3 separate regions of the Homo sapiens genome follow, and regions 2 and 3 are each linked to region 1. Evidence: promoter capture Hi-C in human tissues and cell types (Jung and others, 2019). All regions are on one chromosome and are shown on one strand. The core of a region is centred on a gene start or on the middle of the fragment in contact, and the rest is flanking DNA. Distances in the headings are between cores, read along the strand shown.

What was found. Contacts are between HindIII fragments. The study calls those that stand out against the background at their distance.
Region 2: a fragment that was not itself captured here is called in contact with the fragment with the promoter of PKNOX1 in region 1 in 1 of the 25 tissues and cell types used here (hippocampus).
Region 3: the fragment with the promoter of PDE9A here is called in contact with the fragment with the promoter of PKNOX1 in region 1 in 1 of the 25 tissues and cell types used here (spleen).

Annotation. Positions count from the first base shown.
Region 1 is chr21:42,972,286-42,977,367 of GRCh38, reverse strand. It overlaps PKNOX1 (PBX/knotted 1 homeobox 1), which reads right to left and starts at 2,806. Exons shown (of 11, transcript NM_004571.5): 1 at 2,704-2,806. RefSeq lists an enhancer at 1,281-2,007 and silencers at 1,969-2,168, 2,309-2,628, 2,759-3,148, 3,459-3,618. The HindIII fragment of the contact is 23,812 bases long and covers 1-5,082 here.
Region 2 is chr21:42,525,629-42,530,710 of GRCh38, reverse strand. SLC37A1 (solute carrier family 37 member 1) reads right to left here. Exons shown (of 20, transcript NM_001320537.2): 3 at 4,854-4,935. It overlaps LOC107987299 (a long non-coding RNA gene), which reads left to right. Exons shown (of 2, transcript XR_007067878.1): 2 at 1,886-5,082. Among named protein-coding and RNA genes, the nearest start is that of SLC37A1, 14 kb to the right of the region's middle. The HindIII fragment of the contact is 7,112 bases long and covers 1-5,082 here.
Region 3 is chr21:42,649,789-42,654,870 of GRCh38, reverse strand. It overlaps PDE9A (phosphodiesterase 9A), which reads right to left and starts at 1,250. Exons shown (of 20, transcript NM_002606.3): 1 at 988-1,250. The coding sequence starts at 1,056. It overlaps LOC101928255 (a long non-coding RNA gene), which reads left to right and starts at 1,213. Exons shown (of 3, transcript XR_244322.4): 1 at 1,213-3,281; 2 at 4,131-4,307; 3 at 4,428-5,082. RefSeq lists an enhancer at 1,565-2,286. The HindIII fragment of the contact is 36,096 bases long and covers 1-5,082 here.

The DNA of each region.
Region 1 (5,082 bases), core at 1,557-4,056:
ATATAGACAAAAGACTTCCTTTGGAAGGAGATGACATCTAGGACTTTCATACCTAGAGAGAACTCAGTGCTTAGTTTCAAAGGGCAAGCTGGCTCTCTTGTTAGGGGCAAATGTCACTGGTGACTTTAAGCTGAAGCCAGTGGTCTTTGACCATTCTGAAAATCCTAGGGTTCTGAAGAATTATGTTACGTCTACTCTTGCCTGTGCTCTGGAAATGGAATAACACATTACTGAATATTTTAAACCCACTGTTGAGATCCACTGCTCAGAAAAAGATTTCTTTCAAAATATTACCGTTCACTGACAATGTACCTAGTCACCCAAGGGCTCTGATGGAGATGTACACAAGGAGATGAATGCTGTCTTCATGTCTGCTAACACCACATCCATTCTGCAGCTATGGATCCAAGGAGTAATCTTGACTTTCAAGTCTTAATTATTTAAGAAATACATTTTGTAAGGCTATAGCTGTGGTAGTGATTCCTCGCATGAATCTGGGCAAAGTAAACTGAAAACCTTCTGGAAAGAATCTGCCATTCTAGATGCCATTCATGATTCATGGAAGGAAGTCAAATAACATTAACAGGAGTTTGGAAGAAGTTGATTCTAACCCTTATGATGACTTGGAGGAGTTCAAGACTTCAGTGGAGGAAGGAACTGCAGATGTGGTGGAAATAATGAACAGTTGCTTCTTACGGATGAGCAAAGAAAGTGGTTTCTTGAAATGGAATTTATTCCTAGTGAAGACGCTGTGCACATTGTGGAAATGACAACAAAACATTTGGAATATCACATCAACTTAGTGGATAGCAGTGGCAGAGTTTGAGAATAGCCTCCAACTTTGAAAGAATTTTCACTGTGGTTAAAATGCTATCAAAACAGCATCACATGCTACAAAGAAGTCTTTCATGAAAGGAGGAGTCCATCAATGCAGTAAATTTCACTGTTGTCTTATTTTAAGTAACTGACACAGCCACCACCACCCTGATCAGTCAGCAGCCATCCACACTGAGGCCAGATTGTCAAAGTATAAAACAAGCAGGACTCACTAAAGGCTCAGATGATCATTAGTATTTTTAGCACTAAAATATTTTTTAATTAACGTAAGCACATTTTTATAGATATAATGCTTGCTATTGCACACTTTAAGTAGTATACTGTAATTACAACTTTCATATGCACTGAAAAACCTAAAACTGTTGCGTCACTTGCTTTACTGCAATACTTATTTTACTGCGGTGGTCTGGATTAGAACTCGAATTATCTGAGGTACGCCTGTGTACAAGGACAGGATTCACAAATCACTCTAAGTAAATTAAGCAGAGTGATGAAAGGCTCATTGGGGTCAGCCTGCCATCTTCCAAATTATGACTAAATGCAAGAGCATCACCAATAACTATACTGGCAGAGGTTCACATTTCACCTCGATTCTTCCTTATGTTTAGAGAAAGCCTATTTTTCAGTATGCCAGGAAAAATCATGAAAGTAGACCTAACTAAAGCTGGGGGTTTCTTTCATCCTGAAGAGGAACCACTTCCTAAGGAAAAATCATCTACTGTTTTAAAAAGCAAACTCTCGTAGAGTTGGAAGAGAACCCCACACACAGGTGGAACACCCCCCAGGGCTGCGGCCCCGCCGTGGCGCTCAGCCTGGCCTGCCCTGGGCCCGACCTCAGGACGCCGCCATTCCCGGACCCTCGGGCCTCCCGTCAGGAATCCGCCATCGGAACGGAGGCCCTAACTGGTCCCGTCGCAGAGCCACTGTCCAAATAAGGCATTTCGAGAGCCACGAGGATGACATAAAGCAGACTCCGCGTTTCTTCATTTTTCGTTAAGTGACACGATTTCCCTCACAAGGAAGGTGCAAACCCACAGGGCGCCCAGACCCTGCCCGGCACTTCCTGTCATCCATTACCACGACCCGTGTGACAGAAGCGGCTCTTCCCACCAATTCCCGGGACGCCGGAACCGCTTCCCCAGCACCCGGCCCCAAACACTGCCGTCAGCGAGCGGCCCTGGGCTGCTCCCGCGCCGGCGCCCGGCTGAGGGCCACGAGCCCCATCACGCCCACCGCCCCCAGGACCCCGACCCACCCGCTCGCCACGGCCGAGGCCGGGGCCGGGGTCGCGGCCGCCATCTTCCCGCCTGCGCCGCCGCGCGCCCCGCACCCTCCGAGCAGCCCCGCCGGCCCTGAGGACTCCGCGAGGCCGCGGACCCGACCGGCCCCACGCGCGCCGCCCGCCCCGGCCCCGCCCCGCCGCGCGCCCCCGACCCTCACGCCCGCCGCCCCGCCCGCGCCGGGCTCCGCGCGCCCCCGCCCCGCGCCGGGGCGCGCGCCGCACTCCGAAAGGGACGGTTAGGAGCGCGCGCTTCGATCAGGCCCAGCGCGGCGGCGGCGGCGCCTTCCAGAAATTTCCGCGTCCCTCAACCCACACTAAGAAACCAACTGGGCGCGCCCCCGCGCCGGTTGGGCTGAAGGCGCCCCCTCCCCCGCGGGTGCCCGCTCCCCTCCCCCACCCGCGCCCCCTCCCCGCCCCCTGCCCCGGGCGGCGGGTCAAATGCGGGCCCTCGAGGGCAGCGCCGGCCCTCCAGACCCGGGCGGCAGCGGCGGCGGCGGGCGGCGGCCGCGGGCCGGTGTGATTGATAGGGACGGCGGCGGCGAGAGCGGCGGCGGCGGCGGCGGAGCGGTTGAGTGACAGCTTACCTGGGTGCCAATCTTCATCACACTGACAAGCGGCTGCAGCAATCGGGACCCGCAGTGCCGCGCCCGCGTCCAACCGTCACGCCGACGCTGGGCCACGCGACACAGCCTCGCTCAATGGGAGGAGGGCGACGCCGACGCGCGCCGCATCAATATTCAGAGAGGGGGCGGGGCCTGCCGGAGACGGGCCCCGCCCCTCCCTGCGCGGCGGCGGGCGCGGGGCGGGGCCTGATCGCTGGGGGAGGAGAGCGAGGGCGGGAACCGGGCGGTGGCCGGCCCCGCCTCCAGCCCCGCCCGCACCCGGAGCTAGGCCGTGCCCCCAACCGGCCGCGCCCGAGCGCGAGGAGCTGTCTGCCCCGCCCCGAAGGCAGAGCCTCCCGCCTTATGACTATGCAGTAGGGGCGTGGCCTCAGCGCACGTCTTGCCCCCTCCGCGCCCTCGGTTGCCGCCCAGGAGAGGTGTGTGTAGCCGGGCGAAACCATTTGCCTCGAGCAGGCGGGGAGGGAGGGCTGTACCATCCGTAACCCCACCGCCGGGCGTCCCGTAGCCGAAGGCCTCCGTTCTGTGTGTGCCCGGTTTGAATGTAAGCCCGTGGGAGCCTCGCAGCCTTCCTCCCCAGGCTCTGGAGCCCGGGTGGGCCCGTCCTGGGCGGCACAGTGGATGCTCACGTGCCTCCCCCCCTGCGGCAGCGCGAGTGCTTAGCACCTGAGGCTTTACCCTGGGGGCTGTCTTCCCTCTGTGAGGACCCCAGCAAGGACTCATGATGTCCACAGGTGCTTAGGGGTGGCCTCTGGGCTACTTGGCCTCGCTTGACCACACCTTCCGGCCCAGGTGAGCCTTGCGGGTCTAGGTGACCAATGCGGCCTCCAGGTAAAGGGCACCTGCCTTAGGGGACGCCCACAAGTGTCTGCATTTCAAACTGCTTTGAAAGACCACCCTAACCGACCACTGCCACAATGTACCCACAAGTGCAGATGGTGGCTTTGGTCTCCAAGATGTAAGGAAAGGGCGACACATTCCCCACTGCGTAGGAAAGCACACGGTTTGCCTGACTGGCCTTCAATACTGCAGAAACATCCATTTATGCAGTGGCCCACCGAAGGCCATCAGTGCCTTGAGTCCATACACAGCGCGGGAAGGGCAGCTCTGTGGGCCCCCACTCCTCCCGGAAGGCAGACAGGCCCAGGACTGGAGCTGATTGCTAGAGGGAGCCTGGGGGTAGGTCTAGGCATGAACAGCTCGGAGGACATCCCTCCTGTGTCTTCAGAGCTCCACACCGCCAGGAGGTCTTGGCCAAGTGCTGTGCAGCTGCAGAGCCGCCTCTTTCAGAAAGATGGGAAGCAGCAGGGTGGGCAAGAGGGAGGCCCTGAGATACTTGCCCAAGGAGGGAAGTTCAAGGGGACAAAAAAAGCTCAGTATTCAAGACTGAGCATAATCTGCAGAGCCTAGTGCAAGATCCAGATGCAAGTGTCAATAGGTGTTGGAACAGAGAGACTCCACATGGGCTGGGTAAACTGAAGCTGAGACCTGCTGGGCCGCACCCCCCAGGAGTTAAGGCGTTCTTAGTAATCGGATGAGATAGGAGGTCGGAACAAGACACAGGTCACAAGGATCCTGCTGATAAAACAGGATGCAGTAAAGAAGCCGGCCAAATCCCACCAAAACCAAGATGGCGGGGAAAGTGACCTGTGGCCTTCCTCACTGCTGATTATACACTAATTATAATATATGAGCTTGGTAAAACACACTCTCGCCAGCGCCATGACAGTTTTCAAATGCCATGGCAACGTTTGGAAGATACCCTACATTGCCTAAAAGGGGTCGGGCGCAGTGGCTCACGCCAGTAATCCCAGCACTTTGGGGAGGCCAAGGCGGGCAGATTACTTGAGGTCAGGAGTTGAGACCAGCATGGCCAATATGGTGAAACCCCATCTCTACTAAAAATACCAAAAAATTAAGCAGGCGTGGTGGCATACACCTGTAGTCCCAGCTACTTGGGAGGCTGAGGCAGGAGAATCGCTTGAACCTGGGAAGCAAAGGTTGCAGTGAGCCGAGATCACGCCATTGCACTCCAGCCTGGGCAACGAGCAAGACTCCATCTCCAATAAATAAATAAATAAATGGAAGAGGAAGCCTAAGTTCTGGGAATTCCCCACCACTTTCCCAGAAAACTCATGAATAATCCACCCCTTGTTTAGCACGTGATCAAGAAATAACCAATATAATTCAGGAACGGATTCTAGGGAAAAAAAAAAGGACCATAAAAATAGCCAACCAGCAGCCCTTGGGGCTGCTCTGCCTATGGAGTAGCCATTCTTTGGTTTATTTACTTCTCTAACAAACTCACTTTCACTTTACTCTGTGGATTCTCCCTGAATTCTT
Region 2 (5,082 bases), core at 945-3,444, 450 kb after region 1:
TGGAGGACAGTGGGGTTAGGCCAGTTTCACTCCACCTTCAGCCAACACAGAGGGGGTGTGTGTGTGTGTGTGTGTGTGTGTGTGTGTGTGTGTGTGTGTGTGTGTGTGTGTGTGTATCATCTGCATTTGACGATCTGTCTAGTCAACTTTACGTGGCTCATTAGGCTGTGTGGGTGCACTGATTCTAACCAGTCCTTCACATTCCTTTTATAAGGCTACAAGAATTCTCCAAAGCATTATCTAAGTCCTGGAAGAGCAATTACAGTTTTGGTACCAAAAGTAGGAGCGACCAGCCAGGCTCTCCCCCACAGACAACAGCACCTGCCCACGGCCAGCCTCCTGCGATGAGTCACAGGTGCCACGTGAAATGCATTATACACACTCAGGGACAGACACGCAAATGCTCCACTCATGAAGGATACAGAAATAGATGGAGGAGCTTCTTGGTCATTGTTTACTTCTCAAAAATGGAATCATTCTATACATCCTTATGCACATGTTAACTTCTTACTCAAAGTACCTCCTGGAAATGTTTCTGAGTCAACTGGTTTGCCTGTGATGAATTCTTTTAGGGACCTGCACATTTCATAATACGGACTTGTGATAATTTATTCAAACTTTTACCTACTTATTAGGTTCCCTTGATATCCAGCATTGTTTTTTTTTCCTTTTTGCTTTTTTTGGTCACTACAAAGCTGCCATAAAGATGCTTATGAAGATATTCCTAAGTAAGGTGCTTTTATTTTTAGGGTGAAATTCCCAGAAGTATGTCTGAAGGCTGTAGTGTTTTTTATTTCACTGGGTGTCACCAAAAGGCGCTAACGCTTGACATCCCATCAAGAACGCATGAAAACTCCTCTCCCCTCACGACCAGTGAATAGCGCTTACTGCCCTGGGCAATGCTGTGCCAGCCACTGAGCACAGTGTTGCCTTAATTTGCATATGGAATACCGGCAGACTCGAACACCATTCACATATTTCCTGGCGATCTGAATTCCGTGTCTGTAAACTGCTTGTTCATCCCCCTTGCCCGTTGTTTCTTTGGGTTTCCTAACTTCACACTCACTCCTACGATAAACATAATTTTCTTCTTGGATTTGTACTTTTTGTATTTTACATTCATGTCTTTAATCCATTTATTTTATTTTACTTTTTTGAGATGGAGTCTCACTCATGTCACCCAGGCTGGAGTGCGGTGGTGTGGTCTCGGCTCACTGCAACATTCGCCTCCCAGGTTCAAGCGATTCTCATGCGTCAGTCTCCCAAGTAGCTGGGATTACAGGTGCCCGCCACCATGCCCAGCTCACTTTTGTACATTTAGTAGAGATGGTCAGGCTGGTCTCGAACTGCTGACCTCAGGTAATCCACCTGCCTCGGCCTCCCAAAGTGCTGGGATTACAGGTGTGAGCCACAGTGCCCGGGCCATTTGTTTTTATAAAATAGGGATTCAACATTTATTTCTTCCTGACGAATAACCAGTTGTGCCGACACCATTTATTAAATTTATTAAATAAGCTCTGTCAAATATTCCATATTTTCTAATCTATTCTACTGACTTTTTTGTCTATTCTCATGTAATATCATAATTTGATTATGGTATTAAAATATGTTAATCTTTTGCATATTTTCATATCATAAAATGTTATCTTTACACTTTTCTTGATAATTCCTGGACATTCTTTCATACAAACTTTAAGATTATTTTATTCAATTAAAAAAAACCCTGCTAAGATTTTCACTGGAGTTGCATTTTATTTAAATATTAACACTGGGAGAATTGGAACTTTCCAAATAACAAGTTTCCCACCCATAGTACATACTTCCAGCTTTTCAGACTTTGTTTTCTGTCTGCCACTGAGGATTATTTTATTTCATTTTTTTTTAGATGGAGTTTCACTTTGTCGCCCAGGCTGGAGGGCAATGGTGCGCTCTCGGCTCACTGCAAACTTCGCCTCCCGGATTCAAGCTATTCTCCTGCCTCAGCCTCCCCAGTAGCTGGGATTACAGGCGCCTGTCACCATGCCTGGTTAATTTTTTTTGTATTTTTAGTATAGATAGGGTTTCACTATGTTGGCCAGTTTGGTCTTGAACTCCTGACCTCAGGTGATCCGCCCACCTCGGCCTCCCAAAGTGCTGGGATTACAGGCGTGAGCCACTGCGCCTAGCCAGTTTTCTCCTTTTAAGTCCTGTGTGTCCAGAGAGGGGTGGGCACACTCACATTCAAATCAATGCTGCCATCCCCCTGGCTCCAGGGACCCCTGCAGTTTAAGCTTCTCCGGGAAGCCTCTGCTTTCAGGTTTCTTTTCTGGCCCAGTCCAGGTGAAAAGAGCTCGCACTAAGATCTCTGCTGGGAGTCAGACTCACCTGTCTACCAGCTTGGGCAGACGCTTGCCTTGAGTCCTGAGGCTAGGCCACAGCTGGAGCAGCAGATAGAAGGGACAGGGTTGCACTTATAACACCACTATCCTCCCAGCCCTGGTTTTATCATCATCATCGAGAAAAATACAATTAATCAGCAGTGATCAAAGGTAAGTCTAAACATTCCATTTAACTAACTTAAATGTGACCTGGTGTGCCGTGTCATTCTATAAATGACATAACAGAATAAGACTCACTTTCTAATTCACAGCCTCTGGTTCAATTTCAAGTAAGCAAATACATTTTGCTTTGGTTTTGCTTACAATATTCTGGGAAATGCAGGCTATAAATAATCACTCAACTGTTTTGTGGGTCAACAGAATCACTACTACTTTCAGTTTCGTTGATGCCATTTATATCATGAGCTCAAGCACACGGGCGCTTCAGAAGGCACTATAAAGTTTAGTTTTGATGTGGTGTGATGTTCTGATCTATCTTGAAAGGTAAAGAAACCCACAGGATTCAGCGTCAAGCCAATCCATGCCCAGGCACATCGCAGCTGCTAGGTCAGGAAATCTGTGCGTTTAGGAGGCTCTGAGGGTGATGCTGGGACTGTACTCAGGTAATTAAACCCGGACAAACCCTGAGGCACAGAGAGGATGAGTAGGGGCCCTGGAGGCAGCCTGACCCACAGGGAATTCTCGAGTGTGTGGCAGCCCTGCCTGGGGAACGAAGACCCGAGCCTCAATTTCCTCACAGGGGCACTCGCAGGGTTGCTGTGAGGATCACAGGGGTAATGTATGTGGCAGTTTGTCATACCCCAGGGCTCTGTAAGCGGCAGTTATTTATATTGTTACTTATGACACTGAACTAAGAGCTGACCCTGACGCCGCCTCCTCAGAAGCCCTAAGTCTTGAGTGGCCTGGACACCACTACACACGAGAGTCAGGGGCGGGGGCTTTGAGATGGACCACCAGGAAAGCCGGGAGAGGGACCGGGACAGGGCTCCCACTTGCTCCTGGCTCACAGGGGCCCTCATAGTCATCAGGTGGACCCCAACAGCTGTGGCCTGACAAAGATTCCCCCAAAGGCCAGCCCACCTTACACGCTACATCTGCCCCAACAGCCCCCCAGCCCAACAGGTGGTGCCTTCATGGAGATGCCCATCCCTGCACGTAGCACTCAAGGCAGTTCTCCCACCTGTAAAGCTGTTTTTCTTCCCCTACAATCCACACCCAACCTTTCTAGGTCAATCCTGAAACCCCACACAAGCTCCCCAACTACACCAGATCCTTCAACTCCAACACGCTCACCAAGTCTCTTCAATAGTCACTTCCATCTTTATAATTTACCATTTTCTTGAGCTGTTTGTATATTTCTCTAACCAGAAAGACAAGAAGTAGTAGTATTCAGATTTATAATGACTGGTTACTGGTACTGATTTGAGAGTTTCTTGTCAAGCGGATGAGTGTTTAAGGCCCACCACCTCTTTTCATATTCTTCTCTCTTAAAAACCACATTTTCAAAGGTCTGCAAACGTTTTCCACAGTCAACAACTTGAGAGGCATGGAAGTTTCTTGCTTATCAGGGGCCAAGGGGGAATTTTAGAATCTTTTGGGTAAATGAATGTTTAACATCCCCTGAAAGCTGCTGGAGAGTGGGGAACCTAGGACCGTCACAAAACAGCCAGCCTCTGCATTGCCTCTGCCGACCAGGGCTGCAGAGGGCAGCCACCCAGGGCTCAGCCACCGGCAGGAGTGGAGGAAGCACAGCTCCAAAGGTCACAGAATTGCAGTCCTGGAGCTGGGTCCCTGCCAACTCCCGGAGAGTGAGCGAGGGGCCACTGGGCTGTGAATGCACTGTCTCTGGCAGTGGATGATTTCCTCGTTCTTCTACGATAGAGACTCTAATGCCTCTCAGGCCCCTGATGGTCTACAGGCCGGGTGACGTAATCCCAATGAGGGTAAGAAAATTATTCCTGCTTTTCTCCAGGTTATAACTGGTGATTATGTAGGCTTGTCTGCTTTAATCTTCTTTTCTCAAAGTCTAGTAGAACACCTGCTTAACAACTTCCTGCCCACCCATCACTCAGACAAAAATGCAGCGTTCCAAGAACAATGGAGAGCCACCTCCGCAGCCAGACCTAGGGTTGGATCGCACGAAGAGCTGGAATTTGGGGAACCACTTAAGACTGGATACATTTGGAAGGAACAGTCACACAAGATAAAATAAATATTTAGCTAAGCTTTCAAATTCTGGAAATGTCAACTAATAAAACTAAAAGTCTACTACCTCTGAAAGTATAAATCCAAAAAACATTTAAAAGACTTTAATTTTAGCAAAGGGAAACCGAAAAGCCAAAGCAGCAGAATAACTTGTTTCTACATAATCTGTTTCCCCATGTACCTGCTACCATCCCCATCCTCTGCCCCACAAGCTTTTCAAGTGACGAACTCCTCACAGAGACGACAGGCAGTGCTTTCCATGATTCTTACCTTAACTATGCTGATAGGCTTTCGAGATAAGTGAAAACTTGCATACAGCAGAAATGTCAAAATAAAAATGAAGGCTCTGTACCTGAAACACAAAACAGTGGGAGAGGATGATATGAAATAACAGAAGTTATGTTAGGAATACATATCACTGTGTTCTGAAACGTTCTTATGCTGTGTATTATTCATTCAGTTCTACAGCCATTATCAATATTACTTATGTCACTATAAT
Region 3 (5,082 bases), core at 1-2,500, 320 kb after region 1:
AAGCGGGCTACGGTGGGAGAGGGCTGTACTTTCCATTTCACGGGGATCAAGCCGGGCACAGGGTGAGGGAGGCTTGTTGGCTTAAATCTACTGATTAAACTGGCCAAATGCACCTCTGGGAACAGGAAAGACTCAAGCCTGGCCGGCACCTGCTCTGTGCCTGGCTGGGGCATCTCTCCCTGGCCTCCTTCAGTGGAGTACTCCGTGGGCAGAAAGGTGAGAAGCAGCTGCAAGGGCTTCCTGAAACGCCCAGCTGAGGTTTGAGGGATTTCCTCACAATGGCTTTTCCCTGGGGACTTTAGGGGGAGCTCATGAGAGCCCCTTCCAAGCCGGCGCGCTCATTGTCCCTCCCTGCCCGTCAGAGGGGGCCACGAACAAAGGGGGTCTATTCTGAACCCCTCTCCCGTGTAACTCAAGTCCGCTAGGAACGCTGGACATTCGAGGGACTTCCTATCTCCGCACAGCAGGGGAGAGCCGGACCCGCTGCCCCCCAGGCTCTCCGCGGGGCCCCGGAGGTGCAGCGGCCCGAGTCCCCCTCTGCAGTCGGAGCTACTCACCTGCGGGGGAGCAGTGTCCCCGCCGGCGCCCCCCGCACCTGCCCCCGCGCGACAGGAAGCGGCGGCTGCTCGCCCCCTCCGCGGACCACGACCCCGGGGCTGCCCGGCGGGCCGATCCACCGGAAATTAAAGGCTTCATGTGCCAGCCCTTGAATGTAAAAACTCAGCCTAATCAGATTTTCAAAAAGAAAAGCTCTGCCTGTGAAACGGAAACACTAGCCCGCCCCCCCACCCCCCACCCCCCAGGGCGAGTCGCCCCTTTCCCCGGGGAGCCGGCGCGTGGGGACCCCCGCCCCCGACCAGAGCTGGCGGAGCGCACGGAGGCCGCAGCCTGGACCGGCAGACGCACGGACAGTCCCGCCCCGCCGCGCCCGGCCCCGGCGCTGTCACCCGGGGGGAGGAGGGGGTGTCTGGGTGGGGGAGGGGCTACCTTCTGAATGCGTCCATCGATGTCCAGGTAGATGGCCTTGGGCCGGTAGCTGGAGGAGCCGGATCCCATCCTGCGCCCGGCGGCTGCACTCGGACTTTTTACTGTACTTTCCCGACGCCAGCCGCCGCGGGAGGCGGGGGAGGGGAGCAGGGGAGGGGGCGGGCGGGGGGCGGCCCGCGGCGCTCAGCCAACCACAGCCGCGCCGCCACCGGGCCCGGGACGCCCGGGAGCCGCCGCCGCGCGCCGCAGGGTCTCCTCCGCTCGGCTCGCGCTCGGGCTCGGGCTCCGACTCCGGCTCGCGCGCTCCTCCTCCCGGCCGCCCGCCCGCCCCTCCCCCTCCCCCCTCCCCCCTCCCTCCCCCGTCTCTCCTCTCTCCCCTCCTCTTCACTCCCTGCACCTCCCTTCCCCCTCTTTCTTCTTCCCTTGACTCCAGCCCCCGGTCGGCTGCCTATCTCCCGATGCCCCCTGGACAGCTGTGCAGAGCCCTGAGCGACCCCTTCGGCCCGGAGCCGTCGCCTCCCCACGCAGCCCGTCCCTCCTAAGCCAGCGCTGGGCTGAGCGTGGCCGCGCCGCTGTGGACCCCCCAGCCCCGCCGGGAAAACTCCCCTCGCTCCTCTCTCCCTGCTGCGACCGCCACCCTCATTTCATTTGAATAGAAAACGGGAAAAGTTCCTTCTCGGTCACCCACAGCCTTCCCCTAACTAGGGGGCGTCAGCCTCCTCCAGCTGCGCCCGGAGCTGAAATGGCGATTTTATTTCTGTCCTGTATGGGGCCGGACCGAGGATTACCCCGCCACAAGCTATCTGCTGGATTCAGCAGTTTCGTCCCCTCCCCGCTTGTGTGAATTGCTACAGGGAGTGTGGGAAAGGCGGGAGGGGAAGGGGGCTGTGGGCATCCTCTGGATCTGCGGAGCAGGGAAGGGCTGCCTTGGCCGCCCCCAGTTCTCCTGGGCTCCTCCATTGGGAATGGGGTTGGCGGCTGGGGGAGGAGGCTCAGATGCCGTGGTCCTGGCCCTGGGTGCAGGTCGCCTTTGGAAGCAAGTGTCAAAGCCAGCCGGAGCATGTGCTATTGTTTCGTTGGAAGTGAGTTCCAAGCCACCGCTTTCCATCTGTTAAGTGTCTGGGTGCTGCTTATTGAGAGAGTCTGGTGCACCCAGGCTCCTCCCTCCCCTTCGGGCCTGCTGGAGCCGGCCAGCCAGTGCCAGGGCCAGTGGTCACTTCCTCTCCCTCCCCTGGCCAGCCTGGTCTCCACCTGGTGGACGGTCACAGGCTTTACAGACACCCCCAGGGCCATCTGGAGCTCTGGTGGCAGCTGGGGTCCTGGGGAAGGTGAGAGCTCCTTGCCTGTCCGTGGGGGTGGCATCATCCTGTGAGGTAAGTGATCGTCCTCAGCCTTTGGCCAGTCCATCCTGTGTCACTTTATGTCCCCCCACCTGCTCTCATGGCGGGGGGCACGCTCTCAAATAACAACGGCTTGGAACTCGGTACCTTGGCACCCCCTGCCCACAGCTCCAGTGGAGTCCGTGTCAGAGCTTTGGCACCATGAGTTGTGCTTTTCAAGTGACAGGATGAGAAGGGGACAGCCTGGAGGCCTTTGGGGTGGGGAGACCCAGCTGGGTGGTTACAGCGGGCCAGCTGACTCGCCATGGGGATACTGTGTCCCCGGCTCATTGAAGTGAGCACTATTACTAGTAGTTCAATTTGTTGTCAAATGTTCCGATGCTATTTGGGCTAATCCAGAGATCGTGCTGTTGGGACCGCCTGTGCTGCCTGGCATGGAGTTCTTACCAGCAGATGGCTCATTGGCTTGGCACTTAGTTATTCTCCATCCCTTATTGTCATCTGGCCTAGTCTTCTGTAACCATTTCCTCCAAGAGCCCCAGAAGGACGAGTGCCCGCCCATGGGGGGTGGTTCTGCAGGGCAGTTCCCCAGGAGGGTGGAGGGTGTGGCTCTGAGACTCTGTGTGCGTCCAGCACCAGTGCAGGCTGGCCCCTCACACTGCCTGGCTGATTCTGTGCTCAGGAGAATAATCGCATCTATAATTACTTTGCACTTTTAGGAGCTGGACTGGACCCCTGTGTAGATACTGGATCGATGAGGCCTCAGCAGCTGCCTAGAGAGGAACCCTTTCCTCTCCCAGATCCCCATGGAGCAGTGCGGTCTTCCATTCGTCAACAATCTCATTACTGCGTGTTGGGTGCTGTTCTGGGCACTGGGAATTCAGTAGTGAACAGAATAAGCAGAGATCCCTGGCCTGAAGAAGCTGGCATTCTCTGGGGAAGACAGACACGATGGTATAAATAAATAGAATGTGTAGGGTGTTGGATAAAAATTAAGGCAAAGAAGAAAAATCCATAGTGAGACCCCATCTCTAAAAAAGAAAAATCCTGCGGGGAAGGGGATATAGAATGTGCAGTGTGAGGGAATGTGCAGTGTGAGGGAGTTGGAATTTTAGAGAAAGTGGCCAGGCAAAAGGTCACATAGGAGGAGGGATCTTACAGGTGTTAGGAGCAAGGAGCCTGTGTGTGTCAGAGGGAAGGACGTTCTGGCACAGAAGCAGCCTTATGCAGGAGGCCACGTGGCCAGAGCGGAGGGAGGGAGTGGGCTGTGGGGGACCGTAGTGGGCTGTGAGGTCAGAGAGGTGACGGGGGCAACCCCGCGTGGTCACACGAGTGACTTGAGGTCACTCTTCCTCCACTGCATGCCTTGCAGGAGGCGGTGCAGAGGGCCATGGTCTGACGTGGGTTTTCACAGGATCCTCTTGGATGCTGGAGGAGGGTGCATGGAAGGGGCCAGGCAGGGAGGCCAGTGAGCAGCAGCTGCAGTCAGCTTTGCAAAGTGTGATGGGACTTGGACCACGGTCAGGTGGACCCATGAGTTGGGGTCCTTCAGAGAAGCAGACCAATAGTGAGGAGTTGGCTCACATGAGGACGGAGGCTGAGAAGTCCTGCCAGCTACCGCCTGCAAGCCGGAGCCCCGGGAAAGCTGGTGGTGTGGCTCCAGTGCAAGCCTGAGGGCAGCACCCGGGAGCTGATGGTGGGGACCCAGTCCCAGGGCAGGAGAAGGCCAGTGTCCCAGCCCAAGCAGGCAGGTGGGAGGAAAGAGGCAAGTTCCTCCTTCCTCTGCCTTCTTGTTCTCTTCAGCCCTTCAAGGGGTTGCATGATCCCATGCACACAGGGAGGCATCTGCTCGCCACAGTCCACCACTGCAAACGCTGGTCTCAGCCAGAGGCACCTCACAGACTCCCCCAGAAACAGCGCATCCCCAGCTATTGGGCATCCCGGGCTGGCCAGGTGGACACACAGACCTCACCAGTGCAGGTAGTGAGGAATGGTTGACTCCGCATCCAAGTTGGAGGTTGTGGGGTCTTCATTTGTGCCTATTTCCTAGGTGGGCATTATGCCTATTCTCTGCCTTCCTTCCCCTGGCTCTGCCTGCAGTCATGCTCGTTGGTCCTGAACAGCCTTGGTGGGGAAGGTTCCAGAAGTGGCGCCTGCTCTGTGCCCCCCACATCAGCCCCAGGGTCTCCTGGTATCCTAAACCTACATCCCTGCTCCTGGCCCGGCTGTCGGGAATGCAGCCAATGTTCGTTCCTCAGAATCAAGATAAAAACGAAGGGAACCTCCTGCCTCTGCCAGGCAGGCCGCAGGCCAGGCTGGGGACCCCGGGTGGGGTCGAGGCTGGGGAGCCTGGGTGGGGATGAGGCTGGGGACCCTGGGTAGGGTCGAGGCTGGCCACCCTGGGTGGGGTCGAGGCTGGGGACCCTGGGTGGGGACGAGGCTGGAGACCCTGGCTGGGGTCGAGGCTGGGGACCCTGGGTGGGGTTGAGGCTGGGGACCTTGGGTGGGGATGAGGCTGGGGACCCTTGGGGGGACGAGGCTGGGGACGCTGGCTGGGGTCGAATGCCTCCTCAGCTCAGGCCTTGGGTCTTTGGGGAACGTGGTGACTGAGTTCATATATGCATGAGCGACGTTTCCAACTGTCTGGAAACTTCAGACAGAGTGTGAGATTCTGCCCGTGTGTCACAGGGAAGGAGGCTGGAGATGGAGGAGATTCTGGAGGTACCAAGCCCCCGCGCTCCCAAGAGCCGAGTGG